2 separate regions of the Homo sapiens genome follow, and region 2 is linked to region 1. The links are contacts of gene promoters, found by promoter capture Hi-C in blood cells and fetal thymus (Javierre and others, 2016). All regions are on one chromosome and are shown on one strand. The core of a region is centred on a gene start or on the middle of the fragment in contact, and the rest is flanking DNA. Distances in the headings are between cores, read along the strand shown. Region 1 holds the start of NDUFA6 (NADH:ubiquinone oxidoreductase subunit A6). Region 2 has its middle 13 kb from the start of LINC01315.

Region 1 (2,995 bases), core at 295-2,794:
GGAGTTTGAGACCAGCCTGGCCAACATAGCAAAACCCCGTCTCTACTAAAATACAAGCATTAGCCATGCATGGTGGTGCGCACCTGTAATCCCAGCGATTCGGAAAGCTGAGGCAGGAGAATGGCTTGAACATGAGAGGCGGAGGTTGCAGTGAGCCGAGATTGCACCATTGCAGTCCAGCCTAGGTGAGTCTCACTCTGTCTCAAAAAAAAAAAAAAAAAAGGGTATATCAACACAATCTCACTGGTGTGTTGTGAAGCCTAGCCAAGTTAATGTACCTAGAGAACTAGAGAACAGTGGCTACTAAGGACATCTAAGGACACTTTATACAAACCTTAACTGTGTTACAACTTCTTAAGTCAGTACTGAGGTTCAAAAGCTTCCATTTTATTATTATGCTTTATAATTTATATATGTTACGTGCTTTCTTTTGTATAGCTCACTTGAATATATATATACATTTTAGAAGATAATAAGGAAGAAAAAAAGTATATCTGGTTTTTTAACCCTTCGAAATGGGAAAGTTTGGAGTAGATGCTCAGCCCCGGCCCCTGGCCCTTCCCCAATACTCACAGGCTCCTGTCAACTACACCTTCAGAAAAAGACGGAGCCTCTTAGGCAGCAGTCAGGCAGGTGGGGGCGATCTGTCAGGTGACCTAGACTCTGGGCCATCTCAGTTTCCTCACCTGTAAAATGGGGATGCTGAGGTACCTACCTGACCTATGAGAGCGGAGAACACTGAGATATCTTGCCCATGGCCTGCCCTGTGGTTAGCTGTCGTTTTTTCCTTGACACTTGTAGGCTCCTCTTCATGTTTACATAACCTCAGTGGGAAAACGCCAGCGAAGAGAGACACTCAGAATGGACGATCTAAAGTTCCTTCCAGCTTCCAAATTCTGGGCTGGTTTTCAGAGATCCAGGGCTCGGGATGCGAATGTCCCTGTCTACGATGGGGCTGCCGTTACAGCCTTCCTCCCGGGGCTCTGGAGACGCGCCAGCTCTTTGACACCTCTCCTGCGCTAAGGAAGAGTTGGTTTACAGAAAAGTAAGTATATCCTGGCCCTGCAGAAAGCCGCCAGGCGGCAGGACAAGCCCCACCGCAGCCCAGGCGCCATTATCTGCCTCAGCAGTTACCTCGGGGTCCCGCCACGAGGAGGTTCTTCAAGGCCTGCGCGCCCACGGACACTACCAAGGAGCGCGGCGGGCAGCCGGATAGCAGGACGCTGAGGGAAACCCCGCAGTCGCTCGGCGTCCCCGGCGCCAGCTCACGACCCAGCGACCTCCTGCGGCCCGAGCGTCCCCTGGCGGCAACGCCGGCTCGTTAGAGCGAGCGACAGATGGTGTAGTCCAAAGGCCAAGCGGCGTTTCTGTAGATGAGCATGCGCAGCACCCACCGTTCGCTCAGCCAGAGAGAGGCTTCCCAGCCAATCCGAGAGCCTCAGAGTCATCCTCCCGCCCACCCAGCATACAGGCGGGGCGTTCCTCCTTAGCCAATGGGAAAAGACATTCGCCCGCGGTCCGCACGCGCTGCTTGCAAAGGGGTGGGGTTGTGGAGTGGATGCTTTGGCAAGATGGCGGGGAGCGGCGTCCGCCAAGCTACTTCTACCGCCAGCACCTTCGTGAAGCCCATTTTCAGTCGGGACATGAACGAGGCCAAGCGGAGGGTGCGCGAGCTCTACCGCGCCTGGTATCGGGAGGTGCCGAACACTGGTGAGAGGTAGCGGCTTACGTGGGGACCCGGAGGCCGCCGCTCAAGGTCGTAGCCGGCCCGGCCGGGGTTTCTCATGGGCCCAGCTGAGGTCACCAACTTGGGCAGAGGCGACTGCGGGTGCTTCAGGGGAAGAGGGTCACCCGAGCCTACCATGGGCCGGACCTGGCGGCGGCGCGGTGGTCAGACCGGCCGTGCCTAGCATTCGTACGTGCTATCGGAGCTTTGGTCTCTTTTGTCCTTCGCAATTGGCGGGAGGACGATGACTGTCAGTGACACACTCACTTTGTGGGTGAGGCAGCGGAGGCACCGAGAGGTGAAGTGATGTGCCCAGGGCCCAGGCCGAGCCACTGTTGTACCCAGAACCCAAAGTCTAGAGTTGCAGAGTGTAATTATAGATGCCCGTTGGATTTTTTTGTTTGTGACAGAGTCTCGCTGTGTCGCTCAGGCTGGAGTGCAGTGGTGCGATCTCGGCTCACTGCAAGCTCCGCCTCCCGGATTCACGTCATTCTCCTGCCTCAGCCTCAGCCTCCCGAATAGCTGGGATTACAGGCGCCCGCCACCACGCCGGCCATTTTTTTTTGTATTTTTAGTAGAGACGGGATTTCACCGTGTTAGCCAGAATGGTCTCGATCTCCTGACCTCGTGATCCGCCCGTCTCGGCCTCCCAAAGTGCGAGAAAGAGGTGTTTTTGAGTGAGCTGGAGCACGGTGCCACTCCTCAGGGCTGTCGAGTCCCTGCTTGTGTGTGTGAAAAGGCGGTAGAATGTGGTGGTTAGGAGCACGGACTTTTCTTCAGGCGCTGCCCTCAACTAGCTGTGTGACCTTGGGCCAGTTATTTCATCTATTCCTCAGTTTCTTCATCTTTAAAATGGGAATAATAATTCCTTCTTCAGAAGGTTACTGTATTAAGTTAAAATATCTAGAGTGCTTAGAACAGGACTTGATGCATATTTAACTCATTAAATATTAGCTGCTGCCGTTGTTTTTGTTGTTATTTTTGTTATTTATAGGGCTTTCCTTAGCAGCAGCTTCCAAGCAGAACCCGGTTCTTTGACATATGAGAACTGTGTCTGCTCCACAGAGTCCCTGTCTTCAAGCTGACTTTTGGAAAAATTGCTACTGACCAGAACTTAAACCCACGCGATACTAGAGAAGGAGAAACTTGAGTGATCTGCTGGTTCAGGGACTGCAAATTCAGATGCCTTCAGGGGCAGGCAGATAAAAGATGTGTGTGGGGAGTGACTGTAGCAGTGTGTGTGTGTGTGTGTGTGTGTGTGTTTCGGGG
Region 2 (2,995 bases), core at 253-2,752, 270 kb before region 1:
GCTGAGGGTCAACCAGCCCCAGACACCTGCCTCCTCTGTCCGCTGGGCTGGGCCGTGGCCAGCTCCTTGAGTAACTGGGAGGGCTACAGTGAGTTACTGGAGAGCAGGGCTCTAGCCCCCACCGATACTGGCCCCAGGAGGGGCAGGGCTCACTCAGAAACCTTGCTGCTCTCATTGCAACACCACCTAGCTAAGCGCAGAGCCTCCCTGCCCTGCAGAGCCTGCTGGCTCCCTAGCTAGGAAACGGCACCATGCCAGGACAGAACGGGATCTGTCCCGAGGCTCCTGTCCGTTGGTATTTGCCAGGCACCTACTCTGTGCCAGGGACTTTCCTTAATCATTCTTCAGGTACAGTCTCATTCACAGGAGAGAAAGCCAAGGTTCAGGGAGTGGAAGCAACTTGGCCAGAGTGATATGAGGGCCAGGGGCTCTAACCCAGGGCTGTGGGACTCTGAAGTCAGTAAGTCATTCTCTATCTAAATCTTGCCATCCCCCAGGCAGGCCAGGGGAAGGAGCACTGGCTTTGGAGCCCTGGAGTGTGAGAGGTGGACCCCAGGCTGGGCAGGAAGACAGACCCAGGCACAGTCCTGAGTCTGCCCTCACATGTTGCCACATTCTGTTCCCCCTGCTCACCATGCTCTTCCTGGCAGACTCAACCCTCGGTCTCGCCAGGTGTGAGTCGCTCTCTCTCTCTGTGAGGCAGGGCACTGCATGGGGAAAGGCACATGTCTGGGAGTCCCATAGGCCTGTTTTCAAATCCTGCTCTGTCACCCACTACTGAGCCTAGAGCACAGGATAAAAAGGGGAACAGCATGCAAACAGGGAACAGCATAGGCAAAGGCCAGAGGATAAGAGGGCCTTCGAGAACCACAGCGGCGATGAGCGGAGCTAGGATCCAGGCAGGGGGGCGGACGTGGGTTGAGCTTCCTGTCCCCTGCTCTGGGCCTCTGTCCAGGCTGTCATCCCTGCCTGGCCCACCCTTCCTCTTCTCCTGTCCAAGCCTTCATGCCTCTAAGTCCCTGCTCACTAACGTCCCCTGTGAGTCCCTTCCTGAACTCCCCTTAAGCTTCTCCTTCCTCAGTGCTCCCACAGCCCCAAGTGCTACCTTGATTTGAGCAGTTAATGACCTGGGTTGTGCAGGTTTCTGTCCTGCATGAGTGTGGGAGTGAGATCTTTGTTTCAGATCCTGGCTCTGGACCTTGTCCACTGGATGACCCTGAACAAGTTCCTTCACCTCTCTGTTTCTTCATCAGCAAGATGATGGTAGCAGCCCCCAATGCGTAGTATTCTCTCGGGGATTCAATGACTTTGTGCTTATAAAGCGGCAAACCACACGGCCTCGGAAAGGCAGGCAGCTGGGACACACACATTCATGCATGTCGTTATTATAACTATAATGTGCGAGTCCCTTGAGGGCAAGGCCTCCTGTCTGGTTCCCAGCTCATAGTAAGGCTGGATCAGGGCTCAGGGAGCACTGAGTGATTCTAGAATGAAAGGACAGCCCATTCTAGCAACAAACTAAACAGTGATCATTTATTGAGTGTGCACTGCATCTTGTTTTGTTTTGTTTTGTTTTTTGAGTCGGAGTCTCGCTCTGTCGCCCAGGCTGGAGTGCAGTGGCGCAATTTCGGCTCACTGCAACCTCTGCCTCCCAAGTTCAAGCGATTCTCCTGCCTCAGCCTCCCGAGTAGCTGGGACTACAGCCACGTGCCACCATACCTGGCTAATTTTTGTATTTTTAGTAGAAACGGGGTTTCACCATGTTGGCCAGGCTGGTCTCGAACTCCTGACCTCAGATGATCTGCACGCCTTGGCCTCCCAAAGTGCTGGGATTACAGGAGTGAGGCCCTGCGCTCAACCTGCATCTTGTTTTATTCTGACCACCCTGTAACATGGGAATTATTAGGTCCATTTTGCAGATAATATAATTGAAGCTTAGCAAGACTAGGCCGCCTGCCTAAACTGCAGTGAGTACTTGAGCAGTTGGGTTTTGCACCTGGATCAGGCTGACTTTGCTGTTCCATACACTGGTTAAGATCCTGTTCTGTGATGCCCCTTGTTGAATGGTCCAGAAACCCCCTTCTCTCCCTCCTGGGTGCCCTTCCTATCTCCAGGCTACCCCTTGGAGTTGCTGGGGTGAGGGGTGTGGATTTGGGGACCCCATGGTGATCTGTCACTTCATGAGTCCTGTGCCCTATAATACATACATGTACATGCAGGTGCGCACACACATGCACACATGCACACACCTACAACACCTACACACACACACACTCACAACCTCTGCGGCTGACAAGTTCCTCCAGGTCTCTAGGCCTCCAGGTCCTCCACATCCAGGGCCCCGCATGAAGTCCCTGTGCAGTGCTGCAGTGGGGCTGCCTTTGGCCTCAGTCTCCCAGCTGTCAGCCTCCAGGGGGTGGGATGGGGCTTGAGGACTCCCCATGCCCACACAGTGTCCTGGCCAGCCAGCACGCCCGATCCAACTTCATCAGGCAGGGGCATGGGGTGGGGAGAGTAGGGGACGACTTGGGCAACCCATGTGACTTCTCAGCTCCTTTCCTCATTTGTGCAATGGCCCCCATGACCCTGTTGTGCCCACTCTGTCTACCTGGCCAGGCTGGACCTGAGGCTCAAGTAGGAAATGAGTATGGAGAAGTAAAGGGGGGAAGAAAGGCAAAGTGGTGGTCCGGTGCCTGGACTCCTCTGACGCTAGGAGTGGCGGCCAGAGGAGTCCAGGCACTGGGGTGCACCCGGGCCTGCTGGAGAAGGTGCTGTGTAATGGTTCTGAACCCAGTGGAGATGGGCCAGCCCTGGATCATCTTCTGTTGAACTCAACTCAACTTTCGGTGCTTCCCATGGCTGTGCCTGTCTGGCAGCCTTCAGTAGGGGCAGTAAAGTGGCACATAGCAGGCTAGAGCAGCGGGGGACCAAGGCAGCAGGTGGGACCGCATGGGGCCTAGGGCAGGCCAGGCCAGGCCAGGAGGAACAAGCCTGG

What was found. The method cuts DNA at HindIII sites, captures the fragments that hold promoters and counts their contacts. A CHiCAGO score of 5 or more calls a contact.
Region 2: a contact is called between a fragment that was not itself captured here and the fragment with the promoter of NDUFA6 in region 1, in 1 of 17 cell types (activated CD4 T cells). The highest score is 5.3, in activated CD4 T cells.

Annotation. Positions count from the first base shown.
Region 1 is chr22:42,089,321-42,092,315 of GRCh38, reverse strand. It overlaps NDUFA6 (NADH:ubiquinone oxidoreductase subunit A6), which reads left to right and starts at 1,544. Exons shown (of 3, transcript NM_002490.6): 1 at 1,544-1,710. The coding sequence starts at 1,572. NDUFA6-DT (NDUFA6 divergent transcript) reads right to left here and starts at 1,383. Exons shown (of 5, transcript NR_034118.2): 1 at 1,135-1,383; 2 at 716-1,019; 3 at 84-197. The HindIII fragment of the contact is 8,372 bases long and covers 382-2,995 here.
Region 2 is chr22:42,355,085-42,358,079 of GRCh38, reverse strand. No RefSeq gene overlaps it. Among named protein-coding and RNA genes, the nearest start is that of LINC01315, 13 kb to the left of the region's middle. RefSeq lists an enhancer at 1,276-1,355. The HindIII fragment of the contact is 868 bases long and covers 1,069-1,936 here.